Regions from separate parts of the Homo sapiens genome. Here all the other regions are linked to region 4. Evidence: promoter capture Hi-C in human tissues and cell types (Jung and others, 2019). All regions are on one chromosome and are shown on one strand. Each heading gives the region's core, a stretch centred on a gene start or on the middle of the fragment in contact. The rest is flanking DNA. Distances are from core to core; before and after follow the strand shown. Region 1 overlaps CATSPER3 (cation channel sperm associated 3). Region 2 overlaps PCBD2 (pterin-4 alpha-carbinolamine dehydratase 2). Region 3 has its middle 13 kb from the start of PITX1-AS1. Region 4 holds the start of CATSPER3 (cation channel sperm associated 3).

Evidence for each region. The method cuts DNA at HindIII sites, captures the fragments that hold promoters and counts their contacts. A contact is called where the count stands out against the background at its distance.
Region 1: a fragment that was not itself captured here is called in contact with the fragment with the promoter of CATSPER3 in region 4 in 2 of the 25 tissues and cell types used here (mesenchymal stem cells and psoas muscle).
Region 2: a contact is called between a fragment that was not itself captured here and the fragment with the promoter of CATSPER3 in region 4, in 1 of the 25 tissues and cell types used here (mesenchymal stem cells).
Region 3: a contact is called between a fragment that was not itself captured here and the fragment with the promoter of CATSPER3 in region 4, in 1 of the 25 tissues and cell types used here (IMR-90 fibroblasts).

What each region holds. Positions count from the first base shown.
Region 1 is chr5:134,999,420-135,005,989 of GRCh38, reverse strand. All of the region lies in intron 3 of CATSPER3 (cation channel sperm associated 3), which reads right to left. Among named protein-coding and RNA genes, the nearest start is that of PITX1-AS1, 31 kb to the left of the region's middle. The HindIII fragment of the contact is 5,962 bases long and covers 1-4,732 here.
Region 2 is chr5:134,916,514-134,922,788 of GRCh38, reverse strand. The region is part of intron 2 of PCBD2 (pterin-4 alpha-carbinolamine dehydratase 2); the gene reads right to left. Among named protein-coding and RNA genes, the nearest start is that of PCBD2, 15 kb to the right of the region's middle. The HindIII fragment of the contact is 4,633 bases long and covers 828-5,460 here.
Region 3 is chr5:135,017,104-135,023,994 of GRCh38, reverse strand. No RefSeq gene overlaps it. Among named protein-coding and RNA genes, the nearest start is that of PITX1-AS1, 13 kb to the left of the region's middle. The HindIII fragment of the contact is 6,135 bases long and covers 1-4,469 here.
Region 4 is chr5:134,964,968-134,971,537 of GRCh38, reverse strand. It overlaps CATSPER3 (cation channel sperm associated 3), which reads right to left and starts at 3,631. Exons shown (of 8, transcript NM_178019.3): 1 at 3,449-3,631; 2 at 1,446-1,599. The coding sequence starts at 3,546. The HindIII fragment of the contact is 15,471 bases long and covers 1-6,570 here.

The DNA of each region.
Region 1 (6,570 bases), core at 502-3,001, 36 kb before region 4:
GCTCTGGATCAAGCCACAGCCCTGGGGCATTCTGGATGTGGAAAGGAGCTCCAGGCAAGGCAGGTGCCCAGGCCCAGTGCTTGGAGGGACCCCTCCTACACAGCCCATTGGATGTGTGGAAGATGATCTGGCCCCAGGAGGAGGAGGCAGGGAGGAAGGGGGACTAATGCTCACATCACAGCCCAGCATCTGAAGGTTGCTTCCGGCTGAAATGCTGATGAACATTTGTGCATCTCTGTGCAAAACAGCATTTCCTCATGGTGCAGGTTCATTGTCATAGGTAGAAGGCAGAGTGTCATTTTAATTAATCAGGGGTCAGGAGCCAAGAATGCGCCAGAGCGCCATCTCTGGGCTCTGAGATTGTAGCTCTTTATTTAAGGATTCCTTTAGACTTCAATTAATAGAAATTAGCCCAGAGGTACAAGTCCCGACCATGGGCAGGTCCAGCTCCCCATGGCCAGCAGGCCAGCCAACATTCAGAGGGCATGTTATCCAGGGTCACTTCTGTGCCTCTGGGGATCTAGGGTCCCATGACATCCCAAGGCTACAGGAGAGCCACAGCTCAGGGTGGCTGGTGATCCCCAGGGAATCACTCTAGGATGCAAGGCCCTGCTTAATGACAGAAAAACCATGAGGCCAAACCTGTGGTGCATGCGTGTGTGCCTGTTGCCTCTGCATGCCCAGGGTCTCTGTGCATGCCTGCAAGGGCCAAAGGCTGAGCAGTCCCCAAGCAGGCCGGCTTGCTCTGGGATACAGCCCTTGGCCAGCAGGAGCCTTTGCCTTCTAATCAGGCTGCCACAATACAGCCAAGACGGTGCACTAAGCCAGCAGCAAGTGCCCCCAGCCTTGAGGTGCCAGTCTGGGTCAATGCCCCTTTCTTCCAAGATGGAAGCCCTCCCTGCCACCAGTCCTTTTTGCTTCCCTCCTCCCTGTGTGGTCCTGGGTCTCCTTTTCCTCAGCCCCCTGCCCTCCGCCCTGTTCCTCGCATGATTCCCACTGGTCTCTGGCACCCTCATTCCACAGTTCCTCTCTCCTGGCCTCACCTGAAAGTCCTCTCTCAGCAGAGGACATCACAACCCAGTTCCCCTCTCCAAGAAGGCTGCCTATCCCCGACAGCCCTCAGATTCAGGGGGCCACCATCTACCTTATCCTGGGATCCCCTGTTTTCACAGGCACAGACCCTGCTTTTGGGCAGGGCCAACCTTCCAGCTTCCCCCTCTCCCTCATGTCTTGAAGTCTCTGCCTCCAGACTCAGTACCTCCTTCTCCAGGCAACCCTGCTGTCAGCCTGGGGACCTTCCACATCTTTATGGAAGATGCCAGGCCTCTTCACCCCTGGACTTCCCTCTCTAGTGACCCTGGTGCCACTCCTGGCCCCTGCTCCCTTGGTGCCCAACACCTGGAAAAACCAGATTACACTTCCCACTGCCAGATCCCGCCCTCACTCTGGGGTGCCCATCTGACCATGAACACCTCGGGCCTCCAGTCTTCTTTCCCGTCCACCTGCCTTCCTCTCATCCCTGCTGACTCCAGTGCCCAGCACCTTACATACTCCCTTCCTCTTAGGACACACTGCAAGGTCTGTCTGTAGCCTGAAAATGGGGAGCCACCCTCAGGCTTGAAACCTAGGATGCTATGATTGGATGTGCACTTTCAAGATCCTCCCCACCCCACACGGGCATTTCTGTTCCAGGGCTCCCAGTAGTGTGGGACGCCAATGCAGGAATCCAGGTGAGGCTGATGGTGACAGGAATGAAGAGATGTGGACAAGTCAATAACCACTGAGGAGGCCACACAACAAAGCTTGAGAGAGGAGTCTAAGCTGACAGTCAAATTTATGACTTGGCAACTGAATGCGGGTGGGGGACCCCTCTTTACCAAAAGACGAAATACTGGAGGAGATGATGGCTGAATAAGAACAACTCCAGTCTATAGCTCCCAGTGTGAGTGACGCAGAAGATGGGTAATTTCTGCATTTCCAACTGAGGTACTGAGTTCATCTCACTGGGGCTTGTCGGACAGCGGGTGCAGGACAGTGGGTGGAGCCCACTGAGTGAGAGCCGAAGCAGGGCGAGGCATCGCCTCACCCAGGAAGCACAAGGAATCAGGAAATTCCCTTTGCTAGCCAAGGGAAGCTGTGACAGACGGCGCCTGGAAAATCGGGTCACTCCCACCTAATACTGCACTTTTCCAACAGTCTTAGCAAATGGCACACCAGGAGATTAATATCCCGCACCTGGCTAAGAGGGTCCCATGCTCACGGAGACTTGCTTATTGCTAGCACAGCAGTCTGAGATTGAACTGCAAGGCAGCAGCGAGGCTGCGGGATGGGCGCCTGCCATTGCTGAGGCTTGAGTAGGTAAACAAAGCGGCTGGGAAGCTCAAACTGAGTGGAGCCCACAGCAGCTCAAGGAGGCCTGCCTGCCTCTGTAGACTCCACCTCTGAGGGCAGGGCATAGCTGAACAAAAGGCAGCAGAAACTTCTGCAGACTTAAATTTCCCTGTCTGACAGCTTTGAAGAGAGCAGTGGTTCTCCCAGCACGGAGTTTGAGATCTCAGAATGGACAGACTGCCTCCTCAAGTGGGTCCCTGATCCCCGAGTAGCCTAACTGGGAAGCACCCCCAAGTAGGGGCAGACTGACACCTCACATGGCCGGGTGCCCCTCTGAGATGAAGCTTCCAGAGAAACAATCAGGCAGCAACCTTTGCTGTTATGCAATATTCGCTGTTTTGCAGCCTCCACTGCTGATACCCAGGCAAACAGGGTCTGGAGTGGACCTCCAGCAAACTCCAACAGATCTGCAGCTGAGGGTCCTGACTGTTAGAAGGAAAACTAACAAACAGAAAGGACATCCACACCAAAACCCCATCTGTAAGTCACCATCATCAAAGACCAAAGGTAGATAAAACCACAAAGATGGGGAGAAACCAGAGCAGAAAAACTGAAAATTCTAAAAATCAGAGCACCTGTCCCCCTCCAAAGGAACGCAGCTCCTCACCAGCAATGGAACAAAGCTGGATGGAGAATGACTTTGATGAGTTGAGAGAAGAAGGCTTCAGACGATCAAACTTCTCCAAGCTAAAGGAGGATGTTCGAACCCATCACAAAGAAGCTAAAAACCTTGAAAAAAGATTAGACAAATGGCTAACTAGAATAACCAGTGTAGAGAAGGCCTTAAATGACCTGACGGAGCTGAAAACCATGGTACGAGAACTACGCGATGCATGCACAAGCTTCAGTAGCCGATTCAATCAACTGGAAGAAAGGGTATCAGTGATTGAAGATCAAATGAATGAAATGAAGCGAGAAGTTTAGAGAAAAAAGAGTAAAACGAACAAAGCCTCCAAGAAATATGGGACTATGTGAAAAGACCAAACCTATGTCTGATTGGTGTACCTGAAAGTGACAGGGAGAATGGAACCAAGTTGGAAAACACTCTGCAGGATATTATCCAGGGGAACTTCCCCAACCTAGCAAGGCAGGCCAACACTCAAATTCAGGAAATACAGAGAACACCACAAAGATACTCCTCGAGAAGAGCAACTCCAAGACTCATAATTGTCAGATTCACCAAAGTTGAAATGAAGGAAAAAATGTTAAGGGCAGCCAGAGAGAAAGGTCGGGTTACCCACAAAGGGAAGCCCATCAGACTAACAGCTGATCTCTCGGCAGAAATTCTACAAGCCAGAAGAGAGTGGGGGCCAATATTCAACATTCTGAAAGAAAAGAATTTTCAACCCAGAATTTCATATCCAGCCAAACTAAGCTTCATAAGTGAAGGAGAAATAAAATACTTTACAGACAAGCAAATGCTGAGAGATTTTGTCACCACCAGGCCTCCCCTAAAAGAGCTCCTGAAGGAAGCACTAAACATGGAAAGGAACAACCAGTAACAGCCACTGCAAAAACATGCCAAATTGTAAAGACCATCAAGGCTAGGAAGAAACTGCATCAACTAACGAGCAAAATAACCAGCTAACATCATAATGACAGGATCAAATTCACACATAACAATATTAACCTTAAATGTAAATGGGCTCAATGCTCCAATTAAAAGACACAGACTGGCAAATTGGATAAAGAGTCAAGACCCATCAGTGTGCTGTATTCAGGAGACCCATCTCACGTGCAGAGACACACATAGGCTCAAAATAAAGGGATGGAGGAAAATCTACCAAGCAAATGGAAAACAAAAAAAGGCAGGGGTTGCAATCCTAGTCTCTGATAAAACAGACTTTAAACCAACAAAGATCAAAAGAGACAAAGAAGGCCATTACATAATGGTAAAGGGATCAATTCAACATGAAGAGCTAACTATCCTAAATATATATGCACCCAATACAGGAGCACCCAGATTCATAAAGCAAGTCCTTAGAGACCTACAAAGAGACTTAGACTCCCACACAATAATAATGGGAGACTTTAACACCCCACTGTCAATATTTAACACCCCACTGTCAATATTAGACAGATCAATGAGACAGAAAGTTAACAAGGATATCCAGGAATTGAACTCAGCTCTGCGCCAAGCAGATCTAATAGACATCTATAGAACTCTCCACCAAAAATCAACAGAATATACATTCTTCTCAGCAACACATCGCACTTATTCCAAAATTGACCACACAGTTGGAAGTAAAGCACTCCTCAGCAAATGTAAAAGAACAGAAATTATAACAAACTGTCTCTCAGACCACAGTGCAATCAAACTAGAACTCAGGATTAAGAAACTCACTCAAAACCGCTCAACTACATGGAAACTGAACAACCTGCTCCTGAATGACTACATAACCTGCTCCTGAATGACTACATAACGAAATGAATGCAGAAATAAAGATGTTCTTTGAAAACAAGGAGAACAAAGACACAGCATACCAGAATCTCTGGGACACATTTAAAGCAGTGTGTACAGGGAAATTTATAGCTCTAAATGCCCACAAGAGAAAGCAGGAAAGATCTAAAATTGACACCCTAACATCACAATTAAAAAAACTAGAGAAGCAAGAGCAAACACATTCAAAAGCTAGCAGAAGGCAAGAAATAACTAAGATCAGATAAGAACTGAAGGAGATAGAGAGACAAAAAGAAACCCTTCAAAAAAATCAATGAATCCAGGAGCTGGTTTTTTGAAAAGATCAACAAAATTGATAGACCACTAGCAAGACTAATAAAGAAGAAAAGAGAGAAGAATCAAATAGACACAATAAAAAATGATAAAGGGGTTATCACCACCAATCCCACAGAAATACAAACTACCATCCGATAATACTATGAACACCTCTACACAAATAAACTAGAAAATCTAGAAGAAATGGATAAATTCCTGGACACCTACACCCTCCCAAGACTAAACCAGGAAGAAGTTGAATCCCTGAATAGACCAATAACAGGCTCTGAAATTGAGGCAGTAATTAATAGCCTACCAACCAAAAAAACTCCAGGACCAGATGGATTCACAGCCAAATTCTACCAGAGGTACAAGGAGGAGCTGGTACCATTCCTTCTGAAACTATTCCAATTGATAGAAAAAGAGGGAATCCTCCCTAACTCATTTTATGAGGCCAACATCATCCTGATACCAAAGCCTGGCAAAGACACAACAAAAAAAGAGAATTTTAGACCAATATCCCTGATGAACATCAATGCAAAAATCCTCAATAAAATACTGGCAAACCGAATCCAGCAGCACATCAAAAAGCTTATCCACCATGATCAAGTGGGCTTCATCCCTGGGATGCAAGGCTGCATCCTATGGGACGCAACATATGCAAATCAATAAACGTAATCCATCATATAAACAGAACCAAAGACAAAAACCACGTGATTATCTCAACAGATGTAGAAAAGGCCTTTGACAAAATTCAACAGCCCTTCATGCTAAAAACTCTCAATAAATTAGGTACTGATGGGACGTATCTCAAAATAATAAGAGCTATTTATGACAAATCCACAGCCGATACCATACTGAATGCGCAAAAACTGGAAGCATTCCCTTTGAAAACTGGCACAAGACAGGGATGCCCTCTCTCACCACTCCTATTCAACATAGTGTTGGAAGTTCTGGCCAGGGCAATCAGGCAGGAGAAAGAAATACAGAGTATTCAATTAGGAAAAGAGGAAGTCAAATTGTCCCTGTTTGCAGATGACATGATTGTATATTTAGAAAACCCCATCGTCTCAGCCCAAAATCTCCTTGAGCTGATAAGCAACTTCAGCAAAGTCTCAGGATACAAAATCAATGTGCAAAAATCACAAGCATTCCTATACACCAATAACACACAAACAGAGAGCCAAATAATGAGTGAACTCCCATTCACAATTGCTTCAAAGAGAATAAATACCTAGAAATCCAACTTACAAGGGATGTGAAGGACTTCTTCAAGGAGAACTACAAACCACTGCCCAGTGAAATAAAAGAGGATACAAACAAATGGAAGAATGTTCCATGCTCATGGATAGGAAGAATCAATATCGTGAAAATGGCCATACTGCCCAAGGTAATTTATAGATTCAATGCCATCCCCATCAAGCTACCAATGACTTTCTTCAGAGAATTGGAAAAAACTACTT
Region 2 (6,275 bases), core at 1,895-4,394, 48 kb after region 4:
CGGGAGGCTGAGGCAGGAGAATAGCGTGAACCCAGGAGGCGGAGCTTGCAGTGAGCCCAGATCACGCCACTGCACTCCAGCCTGGGTGACAGAGCGAGACTCCGTCTCAAAAAAAAAAAAAAAAAGATTTTCCTTCCTGGCACTTAGCATAACTTGTAATGATACATTAACTTTTTTCTTTGTTTACATTCTCCCTCCCCCACTATACTGTATGCTCTGTGAGGATAAGGACAGTATCGGCTTTGTTAACTGATACCCCAGTGTCTGGCATAGTGTCTAGCCTACAGTAAGTGTTTGATAACTGTTTATTGTTAAGTGCATAAAAATCAAGAAAAACTTTCTAGAAATAGGTGGGATGTGAACAGAAGGGGCAGGATAGTGTGAGATGGGGCATGGAAAGGAGAAGAACAGTTTGAATAAAGGAAGAAAAGAACTGAACTGAGGAGCTGGGTGTGGTGGCTCACACCTGTAATCCCAGCTACACAAGAGACTGAGGCAGGAGGATCGCTTGAGCCCAGGAGTTCCAGGCTGCAACCTGGGTGACCGAACAAGACCCCATCTCTAAAAACAAAACAAAACAAAAACAAAAAAACCACTGAACTGAGATGAAAAGGGCCTTGGTTCCAATTCCTGCATGGACACTAATTTTTGTGGCCTTGGTCAAGGTACTCACCCTGTCTGAGCCTTGTTTTCCCCACTTCTTCAGTGAAAGGGATGAGTAGGTGACCTCTCATGAACATTGCAGTTCTAATCTCTGAGCAAAGAGGCTTCTTGCAGAGTAATGCGAGGTAGGCTTAGGGCTGGGCTGTGGGCAGCTTTGAAAACCTCTGAGAAGATGAAGCATGCCCTATAAAATATAATTGGAAGGCAGTGAGATTATCTGAGCAGAGACCAACTTGGTCATGACAAAGTGGCACGCAGGCCAGTGGAAGCAGGAAGAGCCTAAAGGTAACATGTGGCCAGGAAGCTCCTACCAGAACTCTAGAGGGAAGGCAGCTGTATCCAGGCCAGCAGCACAGTCCTGTGAAAGGCACTACAGGACGACTGACCAGTTCTTGGTAACAAATCACCAGGATAATTCTTCCGTTTCAGGTCTAGGTGCTTGAGAGGATGCTGGTGTGGCTACTGAGAGGAACAAGCCATTTGAAGGACAGTTAGAGAGACAAGAGTTTGCTTTCAGACACCCTAAACTGGTGGGAAAGCTACCCCAGGAGAGTACGCCACAGGAACCCCCCTGTACTCTGTGGCCCAGCTCACTGAACCCATTTTAGGGCCCTTATTTCCCAACACACTGCAGACAAAGTATGTCCTCTTACTCCCTGTCCTAGACCTATGTCACCTGCTAACCCCTCCCTTAGTGCCTTCCCTTACAACCACATACCAGATCTTCAAGAACCAACTCAAAACTCCCCTTCTCCAGGCAGCAGCCACCCTGAAGTGCACCTCCTGTGGCTTATTAGCACAGCACTTCACATTCTAGTACCTGACTAACATGGTAAGCTGAAAAAAATCAATCACCTTGTACAATTCAGATGTGCCACCTCCCCAGCAAAACTAGGAGATCTTCTGGGCAGAAACGAAACCAGGTCCTTCTGTTGCATCTTCCTCCTTCCACCTCTTGGATCCAGACCAGCACTAGCCCCTCAGTGGATATAAGCCCAACAGCTCTGCTGGGTTCACGAATCCTGACAGAACCACACCATGTGACTCCTGGCCCAGCCAGCCTGGGGCTGCTCCACCCACCTGGTGCATGTCCACCGACAGGGCTGCGATGGCGAGGACAGGGCACTTGAAGTCAGTTTGATGTATGATATAGCAAAAAGCCTCAGCAGCTGGGCTCAACGCCTGTATTCCCAACACTTTGGGAGGCCAAGGCGGGCGGATCACTTGAGCTCAGGAGTTCAAGTACAGCCTGGCCATGTTGGCCATGTTGGTGAAACACCATCTCTACTAAAAATACAAAAAATTAGCCAGGCTTGGTGGCAGGTGCCTCTAATCCCAGCTACTTGAGAGGCTGAGGTGGGAGAATCGCTTGAACCTAGGAGGTGGAGGTTGCAGTGAGCCAAGATCACACCATTGCACTCCAGCCTAGCCGACAGAGCGAGACTCCGTCTCAAAAAAAAAAAAAAGCCTCCATCCTGCCCTGTTGGCAGAGAGCACACAAGCAAACAGAGTCATTAGCAGCATTTGCTGTTTTGATAGGATTGATTTTAATGATACAATTAAATGACCTTTGATTGCTCAACAGTGATACCTGGGCTACTCCCAAACAAGTACAGCTTTGTTTGTTTCAGCTGGCGAATATTCCCTTCCTCTGGGAAGTATGGTAAAACCCATTTAAGGGAGAAAACTAATCCAGCAAGTAGTCCTTGGAAAACAAGATCTCGCCTAAAACAACAAAATCAAAAAAACAACCTTTCTATGTCACAGTAGGATCTAAAAATGTTGCTGTGGGAACCAGGGATGTGAGTCTTGCATCTGGTAACTGTGACATGACCCAGTATGACCACAAGTAATTCCATGATCTCAATCTTGTTTAGTGTCTTTCTGCGAAATTCAGTAAATGAGTCAGAATGCCCCACTCTAACCTAGATCAAAAGCGCAACATAATAGTAATTCTCTGCAACACAGGGGAGAGAATATTACTGCTTTGTTTTGTTTAAAAGGATGTAAGAAAAAGAGCAAAACATGGAGAGCTCAAAGCCAGGAAGAAGAACCTCAGCCACCTGCCCACACCGCTGGACCGAATCCCTCCTGAGGGCAGAAAGCAACTGGCCGCTACCCAGCCACAGGAATGTGAGTGCAGCACTGCTCAGCCACTACAGCTGCTCCATCAGGCACCCAATATTTGTATTCTGACACATCTAAATGCAAGTTCTGTGTCATGGCCCTAAAGCACCACAACTATGGACAAAACTGCAGTGCAAACCCGAAAGCTATTGATAATGGCAGTACTGAAGCGGTGGGCAGGCATACTAACGAAAAACAGAAACAGAACAGAAATGAGCAAGACCAAAATACTTTTAAGTTATTATTTAAGGTCTCCTTTCAATTATTTTCTGCAATTATTGAGCCAGCAGTCTATTGTTATTAATTCACAGTCAACCTATTTAAGCGGTACCAGCAATGCAGGCAAATGCCTCAGCAATTTCCTAAGTTTTGGGTGTTATTTTCTTGTCAGTTAAATTTAAAGCAACCCATTTGTGACCACTTTATACCAAGTTAATCTCATCTAAAGTGCTTCACAGACCCTAACAGCTACACTAAGGTTTTATACTAATGAAAGCAATTTACATAAATGAAATTTATGTCACTGCATTTCATGACAAATTTTTTATTTTATAATAATTATGGTACTTATATGATAACATCTGTTGATATTCACAGTCTAAACCTGGCACAGATTTAAACCCACAACATTTTCCATGCATCATGTACATTATCTGTGAAAAGCAATAAAAAAAAGCAATGAATGCATTAATCATACCAATATCATCTGCAAAGCATAAATCTGAAATACCTTTCACGTCAGCTCAAACTGCTTTTTTATTTTTTACACACCTGATTTTACTCCATCTGTAAAAGGGCAAGACAAAGACTGTTGAGGAAATTATACTTCTTGGCTGCTTGACTTTAACAAAATACTCAGGCTAAGTTCTGTAAACAGAAGATTTACTACATGACTAAGAGCAAATTATGCAGTTAAAAGTCCATTTTTATTAAAGGGTGGTGTAAGGACCATGGTGTTTTCACACTGCAGTGTGGTGTCATATTTGCATTGTTGACACCTGTTTTACATTTCTCCTCATCTATCTGTTGCATGCGCTTTTACAAATACACGCCAGGTCTAGACCTACTGTACGACACAATCAGCAGCAACAAAGCTCCAAATGATAACATTTCAGGCTCTTATTTCCCTACCCTGGTGGACGCCAACACTGACATTCTAGCCACCTCCTGGGAGCATCAGCGTGGTCCTGCTCAGGAAGAACTCCAAAGGGAACACCAACATGAACACTACACAGATATTTTTACTAGCTTCTCACACTTTAGGTAAAGTTTGCTAAAATATGAGTGTCTCTATTCTATTCCAATGAAAACTATGAACACTTTCTCAGGTTTCTAGTCTGCTGTGGTTACAAAGCCAATCATGAGCACATGTTAAATGCAACAGTGTGTGTGACAGCCATACGAGTTTTCACTTTACCTGGTGCCAGACACACAAACACTAGCTTATACTTTCAAATCAAAACGACATTTTTTAATTTTTATTTTATTTTATTTTTTGAGATGGAGTACTCTGTCGCCCAGGCTGGAGTGCAGTGCCGTGATCTCTGCTCACTGCAACCTCCGCCTCCCGGGTTCAAGCCATTCTCCTGCCTCAGCCTCCCAAGTAGCTGGTATTACAGGCACCTTCTACCACGCCCAGCTGATTTTTGTATTTTTAGTAGAGAAGGGGTTTCGCCATTTTGGCCAGGCTGGTGTCGAACTCCTGACCTCTGGTGACCCGCCTGCTTCGGCCTCCCAAAGTGCTGGGATTACAGGTGTGAGCCACCATGCCCAGCACAAAATGACATTTTCTAACCTATATGATGCCCAGGCCACAGGCATCCTCTTTGGGAGTGCTTCCCTATCCTCCACAGGTAGAATATCCTCTTTAAAGAGTGCACAGATGCATTACTCACTCATAACTTTGATGTGCACAACAAAGAACAATCAAACCCAAACTAATTCATTCACAATGAGAGCTATCGAGACTTCCACCAATATTCTGTGGAGGATTGTTAAGACTTTCATCAGCAGTTGTCTTTCTTCTGGTATCATCAAGCCTTTGACTTCACTAAGTGTTTCAAAATGTTCACCATAAGCCTATTATCAAATTCCTCAATAAAACATTTTTATAAAGTAAGGCAGCAAAAGTAACTTTGAACTGCTCTACACAGGAGTCTCTGTGGACACAGGAAAAGAAACATTTTACGAACCCCAAAGTCACATATGGTGCTACTGCTGCTAGGATGTGCAGAGCACCACCAACCCAGCCTGGGCACCCAGAGAACTCCTCCTCCCTCCCGCTGCAGCTCCAGAAAGCTTCAGTGGCAGCAGCACAGCAACCAAAAGGTGAGGGTGATGAACAAGATACAAAACCAATAAAGCTTGGACTTTGCCCTGAATATCAACCAGCTCATATGATTCCATCCAATATGACTGAATGCCCTGCTGGGCAGGCCCACCGAAGAAAGCACAGACAGGGCCCAGGAGCTCCTCCGCAGAGAACCACCGCTGATTCTCACAAAGCTTGGTCCCTTCCTCCTGAATCACCATTGGAAACTCCTCATGTCCTACACACAAAATTTATCATTCACCCAAGCGCCCAGCCACTGCCGCTTACCTGTTCCTGATCCTGAGCTTATTTCCATGCTGAACAAGGGTAGCCCCAGGTATTCAGAAGTGAAAGAACAGGGACAGCCTTCTGGGGGGCAGAAAGGGGTGTTGCCGCCTGGCCCGGCTGGGCTCCTGCCCTGGAGGGCTCCACCTGCTGGCACCTGTAGTAGCTATTTCCTAGGTTCCAAAGCCTCACCTTCTGCACCTACTTTTAAACTTAAAATCTCCTCGGATTTTGTAAGCTTCCAGTTCATCCCATACATGTCAATGCATAACAAAATCTGTCTTTATGGGACTCTCACACCCACATTTCTACCTGACATTTTGTTCTTTCAACACAGACATCCTGCAGTTACCAAACACCTAAGTTTATATGTCACTTGCAGACCTCTCCCACCTTCTGTCTACAGGAACAACAAAAAAGCAAAGTTCCTTTACAAATGCCAATCCCACCCTGTCTGGGTCCAAGCACTCCTAGTGTGGAAACTCCCTGCCTCGAGTCCCACCACTGCCATGCTCTGTCTGCTCACAGAGTCACTGTCTGTCACCAACATACTGTCCATTGACGCACTGCAGAGCCCATGTACCACCACCAAGGGTGGAAACAGGAGGCTAACAGCAACTGACACCTATGGCTACTTCATCCACCTATGCTAGGAGAATCCCTTGAAAACTCCGTACTTATAATCTCCAAGTATTTGTATCCATCTGAGCTATCCAATGAATTTGGATTATTTGGAACTAACCATACCTTAGAATAAAACTCTGAGAGAAAAGAAGTTCAAATGTGTTTTGGGGGCTATTTATTCTTATAGTAAACCTGGAATAACTCAAAGCTTCAAGAAATAGGTTTTTCATCCACGGTCACTGAAATATTTCCAAAATAGTTCATT
Region 3 (6,891 bases), core at 153-2,652, 55 kb before region 4:
TGACTATAAGCACTGCCTCCCAGAGGCTGGCCCTGGCAGCTGAACAGGATCAGTGTAGTCAGACAGCCAGCATGGTGAACTGAGTCAAACAGGTATAGACAGCAACCCCTCAGAAGTGTCTGCACATAGTAGATGCTCAATAAATATTTGTTGAATAAAAGAATTGAGGCACTTTAGGAGGCTGAGGCGGGTGGATCACGAGGTCAGGAGATCGAGACCATTCTGGCTAACACGGTGAAACTCCGTCTCTACTAAAAATACAAAAAAAAAATATTAGCTGGGTGTGGTCACAGGTGCCTGTAGTCCCAGCTACTCAGCAGGCTGAGGCAGGAGAATGGCGTGAACCCGGGATGCGGAGCTTGCAGTGAGCCAAGATAGTGCCACTGCACTCCAGCCTGGGCGACAGTGCAAGACGCCATCTAAAAAAGAAAAAAAAAAAAAAAAGAATTGAGGGAAGGCCCTCCCTCACCCCCACATTCCACAAAACAAATCTTGACCCTTTCCCCCTCTCTGCACTCCTTTGTGTCCTCTCTCTTGCATCTTCCCTTCTGCCACTCACTCGCTCACTCCTTTTCAGCACAGGCAGCTCTTGGCACCGCTTTTAAAAGTGTTTCTGAACAATAAAAAAAACAAATTCAAAAATGGGCAAAGGGCTTGAATAGACATTTCTCCAAACAAGATATACAAATGACCAATAAGCACATGAAAAGAGGCTCAACATTGCTAGTTATTAGGAAAATGCAAATCAAAACCACAATGAGATAGCGCCTCACACCCATCAGGATGACTATTATCAAAAAAGAAAATAACAAGTGTTGGCAAGGATGCGGAGAAATTGGGACCCTTGTGCATTGCTTCTGGGAATGTAAAATGGAACAGCCACTACAGAAAACAGTACGATGGACCAGGCGCGGTGGCTCACGCCTGTAATCCCAACACTTTGGGAGGCCAGGGTGGGCAGATCATTTGAGGTCAGGAGTTTGAGACCAGCCTGACCAACATGGTGAAACCCTGTCTCTACTAAAACTACAAAAAAATTAGCTGGGCATGGTGGCACATGCTTGTAGTCCCAGCTACTCAGGAGGCTGAGGCAGGAGAATCGCTTGAACCCAGGAGTTGGAGGTTGCAGTGAGCCAAGATCATGCCACTGCACTCCAGCCTGGGCAACAGAGTGAGAGTCTGTCAAAAACAAACAAACAAACAGCAACAACAAAAAAATAACAGTATGATGATTCCTCAAAAAAATTAAACATGGAATTACCATATGATCAGTAAGTTCTCTTCTGGGTATATACTCAAAAATAAATGAAAGCAGAGGCTCAGAGAGATATTTGCATACCCACGTTCACAGCAGTAGCTAAAACATGTTTATCGCAATAGCCAAAAAGTGGTAGCAACCCCAGTGCCCATCAGCAGATGAATGGATAAACAAAATGTGGTGTATACATATGGTGGAATATTATTCAGCCTTAAAAAGTAAATTCTGACACAACTACAACATGGATGAACCTTGAATACATTGTGATAAGTGAAATAAGCCAGTCACGAAAGGACAAAGATTGTGATTACACTTACATGAAGTTCCTAGAAGAGGTGAAATCATAGAAAATAGAATGGTGGCTGCCAAGGGCTGAGGGATGGGAAAAGGGGAGCTACTGTTTAATGGGTACAGAGTCTCAGGAAGGATGAAAAAGCTCTGGAGATGGATGGTGGTGATGGTTGCATAACAATGTGAATGTACTTAATGCCATTGAACTGTACAGCTTAAAAGGTTAAAGTGGTAAATTTTATGTTATGTATATTTTTACCTCAATTTTATTCCAAAAGTATATCTGTGTTTATGCCCTTCGTTACCCAGAGAGGCATTTAGAGGCTGGTTCCCAGGACTCCCAGGGGCTGTGTTCACTGTTTGGCAAACCTTTCCCTAGAATCCTCTTCGACCAGCAGCCCCTTGGAGGCCCCAACAATAGCTGACCCCTTGCATGGCCCTCATCCTGACTCTTCATCTTTCTATGCAGCATAGCAGTGGGACCCCATTAAGGACACTTCCTTTATCTAGCGTCTACTATGTGGCCAAGAAAGAGCAACCCGGGATGCATGACTTTTCTTTGTAAGTTTGGCATAAAATTAAATATAGATTCACTATTGCCCTTTTTCTTAACCGAGCTTCTCTGTCAAAAAAGCTAAACAAGGCAAGTAACAAAACAGTCTTAAGCACAGTGCCATTTTTGTTCTTATATATGCACAGAGAAATTTATGGATATGTACAAAGTGTTAATAACACCTACCTCTGACGGGGAAAATGAGCATTTTTTAAATTTGTTCCTTTCAAGGTCTTTTTGCACTGACAATGTATCAGTTTTGCAATGATGAAATAAAATAATGATTATTTTAAAAATACAAAACCCTGTGACCCGCAGGACAGGGAATAGCCTTCCGCCCACTGCCCCTGTCCTCCCACTGAGGTGCCAGTCATCACCTACCTGGGATGCAGCCTCATTTGAGGGAGGCCAGTATGACAGCTATCAAGTAAACTTTTACAGATTTTTACAGAAATGAAACTTTTGTTTTCAAATACATTCTTCTTTGAACAGATGTCATACTAGTAGGTGCCAATAAAAGTGTTCAGTGAGAAGAATTTATAACGATCTTTGATTACTAAGCAAAAGAGTTCAGTGTTTGAAGCAGGTTCTCCTAAGAGGGAGTCCTTCCCTTTTCCTTCCGTCCCTTCTTGCACCCTCCCCGCTCCCCAGCCTCCAACTCAGCAACCGATCTGCACCCCTACCTTGCCCTGACACACACACAACACACACACACACAGTGTGTGCCTGCCAGCCACCATGATCATGGAATCTTTATTAAAGAGGTCCAAATTACCAAGGTTTTACTACACTACTAAAAATAGTCATGCTTACTTAGCCTGTTTAATAAGCACACCATTTCTAATTTTTCTGCCTGAGTAAACTGAAACATCATTCCAGAAATACATTTTTACTGAAACAAGAAGGCTCGCTTTTTTCTTCTTCATCCATACACCGTTCTCTCTCTTTCCCCCTCCTCTGCCTCGCCTCCTGTATCTGTCCCCTGTGTCCCCCTCAGCTCCCACCCCTATCCTTTTTTAAGTTTCCAACATAAAGGGGAAAGTAACAGTAATTTGAACTTGGCTTTCACGCAAAATGGACCAATTTTTTTTAAGTGTTGGTAATTTGTCCTGAAAATGGATATCGGGAGTTGGGCTGGAAAGACTTTGAAGAATGGGGTTTTATGAGTGGAAAATGCGGCCTGAGCATGCGGGAATGCAAGCCGCCCCCCCTCCATGCCTGGGACAGTGCAGCACGTGTAATAATCGCAGCTAATAGCACCATTATTGCTATTATCACATTATATTATTATTCCTCATCAAAATCAGACAATGCTTATTAACCCATTTAATTGAACCAAGGGTTTAACATCCCAATGACTTCACAGAAAGTGCTTGGCAAACTCTCTAAGGCATCGTAGCCACAAAGTGGCTGGCCACTTCACCACCTGCCAGGCTGTGGCGGGGCCCAGCAAGGGTTTCCCCAAACCGTTCCCTCCTGTGGCCTATCTGGGAACTTTCCAGGACACACTGGGATGGATGCGCATCACCACCCAGACTCCAGCCTCTTTGTGCACACACATGCCCACACAGGCGCACACACACACACGCACACCTCTCTCCCGCTGGGTAAATGCAACTCAATAAAGGATACCCTTACACAAAAGACCCCACCCCAGGCACGGTGTGGCCAAGGATCCTTCCTCCATCCCCAAGCTGGCATTCCTATTGTCACCAAGGCCGGAATGAGTACAGGCACACACAATTCATGGTGAACCCCTGGCTTCTCCCAAGCTTGGCATTATCTCCACCAAGGCCTCTCAACTCTCCCACAGTCCAGAGCCCACAGTGGGGCAACTGAAGCCCACCCAGCCCCCCAGGCTCACAGAGACTCACCCAGCCCCTCCAGGCAGGGATATCCACTGAGCCCAGGCTGGTGGAGGGGCCTGGAGGAGGGCACGATCCCCTCGGGGAGTCCAGAAGCCCAAATCCTAGCCCGTGAGCTGGGCTCTTCCCAGGGCATGATGTCACCTCACAGAACCCCAGTAACCCTCTGTCAAGCGGGCATTGGCCCCACCTGCCTACCTCTTGGGATTTCCTGTCAGGGTTTGAAAAGACCCTGGATATGACCATTAAATATTGCTGTCAAGTAGGTTGTTGCTTCAGAAGCACAAAATTACTCATTTTCATCTCACTGACCTCGTACTGCTGGAGGATTTCTGAGTGAAGACGCTCTTTCTTGACCAACATGTCCAACCTCCCTCCCCTCCAGACAGGTTCCCCAGGGAAGCCTCTTGCTTTGCTTCCTTGGGGGTAGTGGCACTTCCAAGCCCCCAGCAGGGATGCTACACTGCCCCAGATCCTCCAGCAGGTCAAGAGCTCCCCCTTGGGTGAGAGGGAACCACGTCCCCCTCTGAAGTCCCTTAAGTCCTGGGCTTTCACCAGCCTCCTGCTCTGGCCAGCAAGGCCTAGGAAGACCCTGCCTCAGCCCACCCAGCCCAGCCTACCTCCGGGTGTGGTGGGGAAATGAGGGCCAGAGACAAGATCATGGAGGTTAAGAGCACGAACTTTGGAGTTAGGCAGAGCCTGGGTTTAACTCACAGCACCACCACTCATTCACTGCCACAGAACTTCTCTGAGCTTGTTTCCTCATCTGTAAAGTGGGGAAAATGTGAAAAGTTACATATGGTGTTTGGCACTGTGCCTGTGACAGATAGGCATAAAATAACTGCTGGGTCTCTTTGCTGCCCTCCTCCTCCCTCCCTCCATCAGGATTCTAAAGCTGGCATATCTCAGGCAGGCTGATCACTGGCATCCAGGTGTCAGGGACGACCCTGCAGTCCACAGCCCTCCCCAGCTGGTGCTACGAAAATAAATATCTATGGGTAGAGGAATTAAGGTCTGATACAAAGTAGGATACAAAAGGTCAAGGGTGACAGCATGAGAAAGGAGAAATCAAGGCTAATGGGAGCAATCTGGGAAAGCTTCCTGTTAGAGGGAGCCTGGTACTCAGCCTTAAAAGACAGGCAGAACTGGGATGGGTATGCAGGAGTAGAGGTGAGACTGAGCCAGGCAAAGAGGATCCCTGGCCTGGGAGGCATGGGAAGAGGAAGGAGAGACAGAATAGAGAGAATAGAGGAGCCTTAGATGCCAAGTGAGGGGGATACAGCCACCCTCAGAGGCAGTGGGAATGAAATCCAGCCAGGTCACTGCTTTGCTTACCACGATTCCCATCCCTTAAAGGCCAAACTGCCCCGCTGAGCATGTGAGCCCCTCAGGATCTGGCTCCAGTCTACTGCCCTAGCCTCCAGTCCCCCCACCCCTCACCCCACAGCACAGGCTGCAGCCACACTGACCTCGGCACTCCCTTAACCCTCACGGAGCTCCTGCCATCTTTCCTTTGTGCATTTGGTTCCTTCTGCAGAGAATGCCCTTCCACCTACCACAGGGACACACATACAATGTTTTCAAGGTAAAAACTGTTGTTTTTCCTGATCATAAAATACACACTCATTCTTAAAATTCAAAAAGTTCAAAAAAGTGTGAGGACAAAAGTCGAGATCCCCCAAACCACTATGAATATTTTTATGATTATCCTTGCAGATGTCCTTCATCAGACATAATGTCTATATGCTCATTCTATATGCTCACTCACTATTACTTAAAGGATGCCAGATCCCATGCTGCTCTAGAAAGCCACGTTTTTCACTCAATAAAATATCAAGAACATCTTTTCTTATCAAGAAATCATTACTTTTAATGGCCACAAATATGGATTCATAATAATATAGCCAGTTCCTCACCAATGAGCATTTAGGTGATTCCTTATATTCCTATTATAACAAGCCACAGTAAACATCCTTATCCATGTGTCTCTGTGCATTTGACATTTATTTAGCTCCTTGGGATAATTTCAAGAAGTAGAATGATTGGGTCCTAGAAGCACACATATAAAATCTAATCCACATTGTCTTATGAGAAGGCCACACTTACTTGCATTGCCAAAAGTGGACAAGGGTGTCCATTCTCCACACCCAGGCCTATCCTAGGTTTTTTGCTTGTTCGTTTTTGTTTTTTGAGACAGAGTCTCACTCTGTTGCCCAGGCTGGAGTGTAGTGGTGCAATCTCGGCGCACTGCAACCTCCGCCTCCCGGGTTCAAGCAATTCTTCTGCCTCAGCCTCCCGAGTAGCTGGGACTACAGGCGCGTGCCACCATGCCCAGCTAATTTTTGTATTTTTTTTTTAGTAGAGACGGGGTTTCGCCATATTGGCCAGGCTGGTCTTGAACTCCTGACCTCGTGATCCGCCCACCTCAGCCTCCCAAAGTGCTGGGATTACAGGCCTGAGCCACCGCGCCCGGCCCGATCCTAGGTTTTGTCTATCATCTTTGCCACCTAAAAGAGAAAAAAAAAAACCTCTCACTGCCACTTTATGTGTGGTGTTTTATTTATTTCTCCCTTTTCTTTTTCATTTTAATGCAGATGGTGTCGCATATGTATAGTTCTGCAGCTAGCTTTTTCCACCTGATAATGTTTTCTCTCCTTTTCCACTTGCCTTTTCAAGGGTCAGATAAAAAACTCCAGCCAAGAGTCTCTCAAGGCACCCCTTCCAGATGCCCACAGCTGCCACTCCTGCTGATCGAGTTATGAGTGGGTGCAAGGGCAGGCAGAGGAAACTGCCTGCAAGTCGCCACCCTAGAGGGCCAGCCTTGTGGGCATCCGGACACCGACCAGGCTGGTGCATCCTGCCTGCTGTGACCTGCTCACGCCTGCTTAGCACATCCCATCTGCAGCCAAGCCTCCACCATGTGG
Region 4 (6,570 bases), core at 2,382-4,881:
CATACTATTCAGTTCTTACGGCTTGTAGTAAGGAAACTAACCAGTTTTGTTGTAAATGCTGCCTGTGGGTTCTTGGCTTTGCTACCTAGTTGCTCTGGTTTTTTTGGTTGGTTGTTTAGGACAAGGTCTCACTCTGTTGCCCAGGCCAGAGTGCAGTGGTGCAATCACAGCTCACTGCAGCCTCGAACTCCCAGGCTCAAGCAATTCTCCCACCTAAACCTCTAGAGTAGCTGGGACTCAAGGTATGCACCACCATGCCCAACTTTTTTTTTTTAATAGAGATGGGAGGGGCCGGGCACAGTGGCTAACGTCTGTAATACCTGCACTCTGGGAGGCCGAGGAGGGCGGATCACGAGGTCAGGAGATTGAGACCATCCTGGCTAACACGGTGAAACCCCATCTCTACTAAACATACAAAAAATTAGCCGGGCGTTGTGGCGGGCGCCTGTAATCCCAGCTACTCGGGAGGCTGAGGCAGGAGAATGGCGTGAACCCAGGAGGTGGAGCTTGCAGTGAGCCGAGATTGCGCCACTGCACTCCAGCCTGGGTGACAGAGCGAGACTTCGTCTCAAAACAAAAAAAAAGAGAGATAGGAGTCCCACTTTGTTGCCCAGGCTTGCTCAGTTTTTGAGAGGAGATTCAAGGAGACTTAAAAACCATGTCACTGGCCAGGCGCGATGGCTCATGCCCGTAATGCCAGCACTTTGGGAGCCCGACGCAGGCAGCTCACTTGAGGTCAGGAGTTCAAGACCATCCTGGCCAACATGGCAAGACCCTATCTCTACTAAAAACACAAAAATTACCCAAGCATGATGGTGTGTGCCTGTGATCCCAGCTACTCAGTCGGCTGAGGCAGGAGAATCACTTGTACCTGGGAGGCAGAGGTTGCAGTGAGCCAAGATAGCACCATTGCACTGCAGGTTGGGCAACAGGGCGAGACTCTGTCTCAAAAAAAAAAAAAAAAAAAAATCCACCATGTCACCACTGCTGCTCTTGCCACCCTCTTCCCAGATTTTAGAGTATTTTTAGAATTCTACAGAAAATTTCTTGAAGCAAAATACCCTTAAAATCTTATAATGGGCTGGGCATGGTGGCTAACGCCTGTAATCCCAGCATTTTGGGAGGCTGAGGCGGGTGGATCACGAGGTCAAGAGATCAAGACCATCCTGGCCAAGAAGGTGAAACCCCGTCTCTACTAAAAATACAAAATTAGCTGGGCGTGGTGGCGGGTGCCTATAATCCCAGCTATTCAGGAGGCTAAGGCAGAGGAATCGCTTGAACCTGGGAGGTGGAGATGGAGGTTGCAGTGAGCTGAGATCACGCCACTGCACTCCAGCCTGACAGAGTGAGATTCTGTCTCGGAAAAAAAAAAAAATCTTATAATGTTTCCAGAAATAAAGCATGTTTTAAAAAAAGAAGAAAATGGACCCATTTTGTCTGCTTACCTCAAGAAGTCTGAACAAGCGGTACCTTATGTCATAACTGGTCCACAAGGCCATAAAAAACGCATTCGATGTGACAGTGCTAATCATAATTATCTTAAAGAAACGGCTCATTATGACTCTCTTCACAAATGCCCGACATTCATCATCGTTCCTCCTGTCAAAAAGTTGAATGTGAAGTATGGTTACAGCACAATAGAGCTAGATCCCCATAAAATGCATACCTTTTTGTAGGGACAAGGCTCTGCTTTCTCCCTTGTGTGAATATAAATTTACATATACTTTTAAATAGCAATGAGATGTTGAATAAATGACCACTGACATATATATGATGATCATGGATACTCTGTCCTCACTCAGTTACTTAGCTCCCTCTCCCTGGACCTCTGAAAAAGAATGGTCACCACTCCTTCTCCAGCAAAACAAAGTGTCATCTTCATTGACTCAACAAATCTTTATTGAGTGGCAACTACATATCAAGCAATCTAGTAGGCACTGGGAACACAGTGACAGCAAGACTAAATATTGCCAGTCTACTAAGCAAAACTGATAATCATCAAATAATCACCCATACACATGCTCACATCAGTAATAAAAAACTGAATACCCCAAGAGAAAATGGGCACACAATCTATTCATGAAATAAACACCAAAGACAAACAAACTTCTCCAAATATGTTCTACAGCAATACCAATCAGGGAGATGCAAAGTAAAACCATTGTTTTTGTTTATAAAATTAGCAATGACTTAAATGTGATAAGATCTAATGCTGGCAACAGTGTAGTATGATTGAGCACTCTCAAAAACTGCCAGAGGCATAAAAACTGACCAGCTCTTTTGAAAAGCCTGAGAACCATTCATTCTCTGACCCAAGATAATATAACCTGAAATGAAATAACTTCAACTAAACATGTCTATCTCAGTATTTTTTCCAGCACTGAGAAGCTTGAAAACAACTTAAACATCTAACAAAAAGGACTGTGTAAGTAAATTATGGTATGTCCATCTTGTGAAATACAGGCACTAAAATATGTCTATGCATTTTTCAGGATTTAGAAAAATGTTTATGATCCATTTTTATATCTTTTGTTTTTGTGTGCAGCAAAACACAAAAACCAAAGATACAAAATTCTCTGTTCAAAATTATCTCACCTGTGCAAAAATCAGCAGTAGAAAAAATCAGCAGGAAATATGCCAAAATTTTAACAGTGTCTGTCTATGGATGGTGAGGTTATAGGTGATTCTTTTTCCTGTTTATTTCCATTTATCTGTGCTTTGCAATTTTTCTCAGAGTACGTATTACTGTTTCCCATTATATGTTACAAATGAAATGAACACATTCTCATAAGTTAAAAAAATATAGAATATATATTTTTCTTTTTCCTTTTCTTTTTTTTTTTTTCTGAGACAGAGTCTCGTTCTGTCACCCAGGCTGGAGTGCAGTGGTGCAATCTTGGCTCACTGCAACCTTCGCCCCCCAGGTTAAAGGGATTCTCCTGCCTCAGCATCCTGAGTAGCTGGGACAACAGGTGCACACCATCACTCCGGGCTAATCTGTGTATTTTTAGTAGAGATGGGGTTTCGCCACGTTGGCCAGGCTGGTCTCAAACTCCTGACCTCAAGTGATCCGCCCCAGCCTCTCAAAGTGCAGGGATTACAGGTGTGAGCCACCGTGCCCAGCCAGAATGTATATACTTTTCTAATATATCAAGATATGTAATTTTCATTATCTGATTTGAGATGGGGTCTATTATAAAAAAAGAGAAAAGCCTTCAGATTATCTAACAGTCAAACTGGTCAAACTGGTCATTCAAGTCTACAGGGCACATAAAGGTAATAGCATGCCAGCCTCACCAATCATAGAAACCAGATTGTCAAGGACATGCAACTTATTTTGGTAAGCAGACGAGTATCTGAGGGAAGAGGCTGAGAGAACACTGACACCCTGCCCTCACACTTCTACTAGCACATTTCTTAACAGGCAATGGAGATAGATAATATTTACTTAAATTTCTTGAATGTTGGGCAAAATCCCACCGATGTAGTGTCAACTGGTGAACTAGAAATGACTCTCGAGTGGCGCTGGTGACGGTGTTGAGACATTTTCCAAATTTTCAACTTTTATTCCTTGCTTTTAGCATCCAACAGAAAATCTCTGCTTAGGGATTTTCCTTAGCGTCTGGATTCTGAGAGGCAGCAGAGAAGGGGCCACGAAGGGAATCCTTGCTTTATGAGGTCACTCTTGGGCATTCTGTTGCATTACCAGTGTGTAGGCCCCTGAAGTGGGGAGCTCCCAAGTGGGTCTATCATGGATTCTCTCTTCCCAAGGAGACTGAGTGCCTCCATTCAGCAAAAAGGCTATGGGCACCCAGCAATCATGAGGCTCTGGGTTAAAGCTGGAAGTCACTAGAAACAGACCACACAAAGGCCCTCCCTTCAAGAAGTGCCCCCAGCTGATAGACACAGGCCCTTAATAATGTGTTAGAAAAAGTTAAGGGTCATATATAAGGGGGAAAAGCAAGTTCTCTGGGCTCTAAGAGAAAGAGAGCACATCCAGGGCACAGCACTGGAAAACACCTGGAAGGACAAGAAAAGATTGTGATGGGTTTGACTTAGAACAAAAGAAAACAAGAGAAGCAAAGAAGGTAATAGTGAGGTAGGGATAGTGGCTCACACTTATAATCCCAGCAACTTGGGAGGCTAAGGTGGGAGGATCACTTGAGGCCAGGAGTTTGAGATCAGCCTGAGCAACATAGTGAGACCCCCATCTCTAAAAAAAAAATAAGAAATAAAAATCAGCGACGAGGCATAGCGGCTCATGCCTGTAATCCCAGCACTTTGGGAGGCCAAGGCAGGCAGGTCGCTTGAGGTCAGGAGTTTAAGACTAGTCTGGCCAACATGGTGAAACCCCATCTCTTACTAAAAAAAAATACATAAATTAGCCGCGCATGGTGGCAGTTGCCTGTAATCTCAGCTACTCAGGAGGCTGAGGATGGAGAATCACTTGAACCCAGGAGGTGGAGACTGCAGTGAGCCAAGATCGTGCCATTGCACTCCAGCCTGGGCGACAAGAGCGAAACTCCATCTCCAAAAAAAAAAAAAAAGGAAATAAAAATTACCCATGGGAGGCTGAGGCAGCAAGATAACTTGAGCCCAGGAGTTCAGGACTAGCCTGAGCAAGATAGTGAGACTGTCTCTACAAAAAATAAAAATAAAAAAAATTAGGTGGGTGTGGTGGCATGCACCTGTAGTCCCAGCTACCAGAGAGGCCAAGGTAGGAGGATCACTTTAGTCCAGGCGTTGGAGGTTACAATGAGCTGTGATCACACCACTGCACTCCAGTCTGCATGATAGAATGAGACCCCATCTCTTAAAAAAAAAAAAAAAAAGAAAAAAAGAAAGGAGGCAATATAAACCCTGAGTTGGCTAACTGCAGGCATAGGATGGGATGTGCACATATAAACCACCTAAACAGAATATAAAGAGTGAGCACATGTGGCAGAGATGTTTTAAGTACAAAAGTAATAGGGATTTTTGCTCTGTTCAACTCTCAGGATTAATATATTCTCCCCACTCACCTTCTCCTAACTCCTTTGGCTTTCAGGGCAAATCAGGACAGTGGGATCTGGGTAGCCCTGTGTTGTATTAAATGCTCAGTGGCTAAATTGGTCAATCTCCTGGACACCAAAGTTCTTGGGCTGTAAGAAAAGGAAGTAACTACCCCACCATCTCTGCTGTCCCTGGTATTCTACAACAAGTATATATGACCATTCATGGTAGGAAAATACTTTGTGGGCAACCAATATACTGAACTGGGAAATAACATCTTACGTACTCATTTTCTCCATTTAAAATCATCAACAGCAAAGTTTTAAGAATCACTGTGATTAATGTCCCCACAATTCAAACTTTAGCCCCATCTTCTCCGTCTTCATTGTTTCCCTCAGGGATCAGCTCCTCCTATAACTCCTGCTATGTCCTTTAGTTATATGCCCCTAACGTCTCAGGGCTCCTGCCCAACATCCATCCACAGGGGCCTCCTGGGGCAGCTGCTCTAAGACAGCCCGCATCAGCTCTCCATCTGTTTCTACCTGCCCTGATATGTCACTGTGCTCAATCCCCTAGGGCACACAGAAGGCCCTCAGTAAGTGTGTGCCGTATGAATATACAAAATAATGGCATCAGGGATCCCTGTGCTCATTCACATAGCTAGGGACAACAGGATTTCATCTCCAGGAAACTCAGTAGTATACTTTTGTGACTTCTCTCTTTAAGCACCAAAGCATACTTTCAGGGAAAAACAAAAAAGAGATTAAAAATGTAAAGAATTCTTTCATGCTGCTTGGAGAGGTGAGGGAAGGTAGCCCACTGAAAGTGACAGAGAAGAGCCCAGTTGTTCTTGGTGTACTACATCAGCACAGCCACAGATGAATGCTGTTTCTGAAGCCAATGATGAAGACTTTAGTCTGGAAATGAAACTCCAGCTGAGTGAGTGGAAAGCAAACAGGAAACCAGAGGTGACAAGCTGATCCAGGGCCTACTGAAATCATACATATCTTCTCATGGATTGGTGGGCAGGGCAGGCATCCTGGGATGAGAAGCCCAAGGGCCATCTCCTGTGCCCTTTCAGCAGCAGCTCATGCTCTGCGTGACCTAAGCAGCACCATCTCAGCCACAGATAGCCGGGGAGAGTCAGCCAATGGCAGGTGCAGCAGCTTGGTGACCCTGAAGTCCTCTGGACAGTCATTAATTTACTAATCCTGAGTAACTGGCATTGAAACACAAAGCTCACATATGATGGCCAAACCCTCCCGATGTTTTTCTGATAACTTTACAAAACTGAAAGCTACAGAGTCCACCTAGAATGTTTCTGAATGCTGAATCAGAAAGTGTACAGACCGCTCCCTACTAACCCTAGTGGTCCAATAGTTCAATATATTAACCGAGGCAGGCTTGTGTCCAAATACAATGTACATGCTGCTGCTTTTTGTCTATAGCAAAAACATAAACAGCCATGCTTAAGCTATTTATCCAGAGGTTTCCTAAATCCTATCAATGTCAGAAAGTAATCACTATTTTCAGAACTTTCATTAACTTCATTGTAGAAAAGGACATCGTCAACCATGT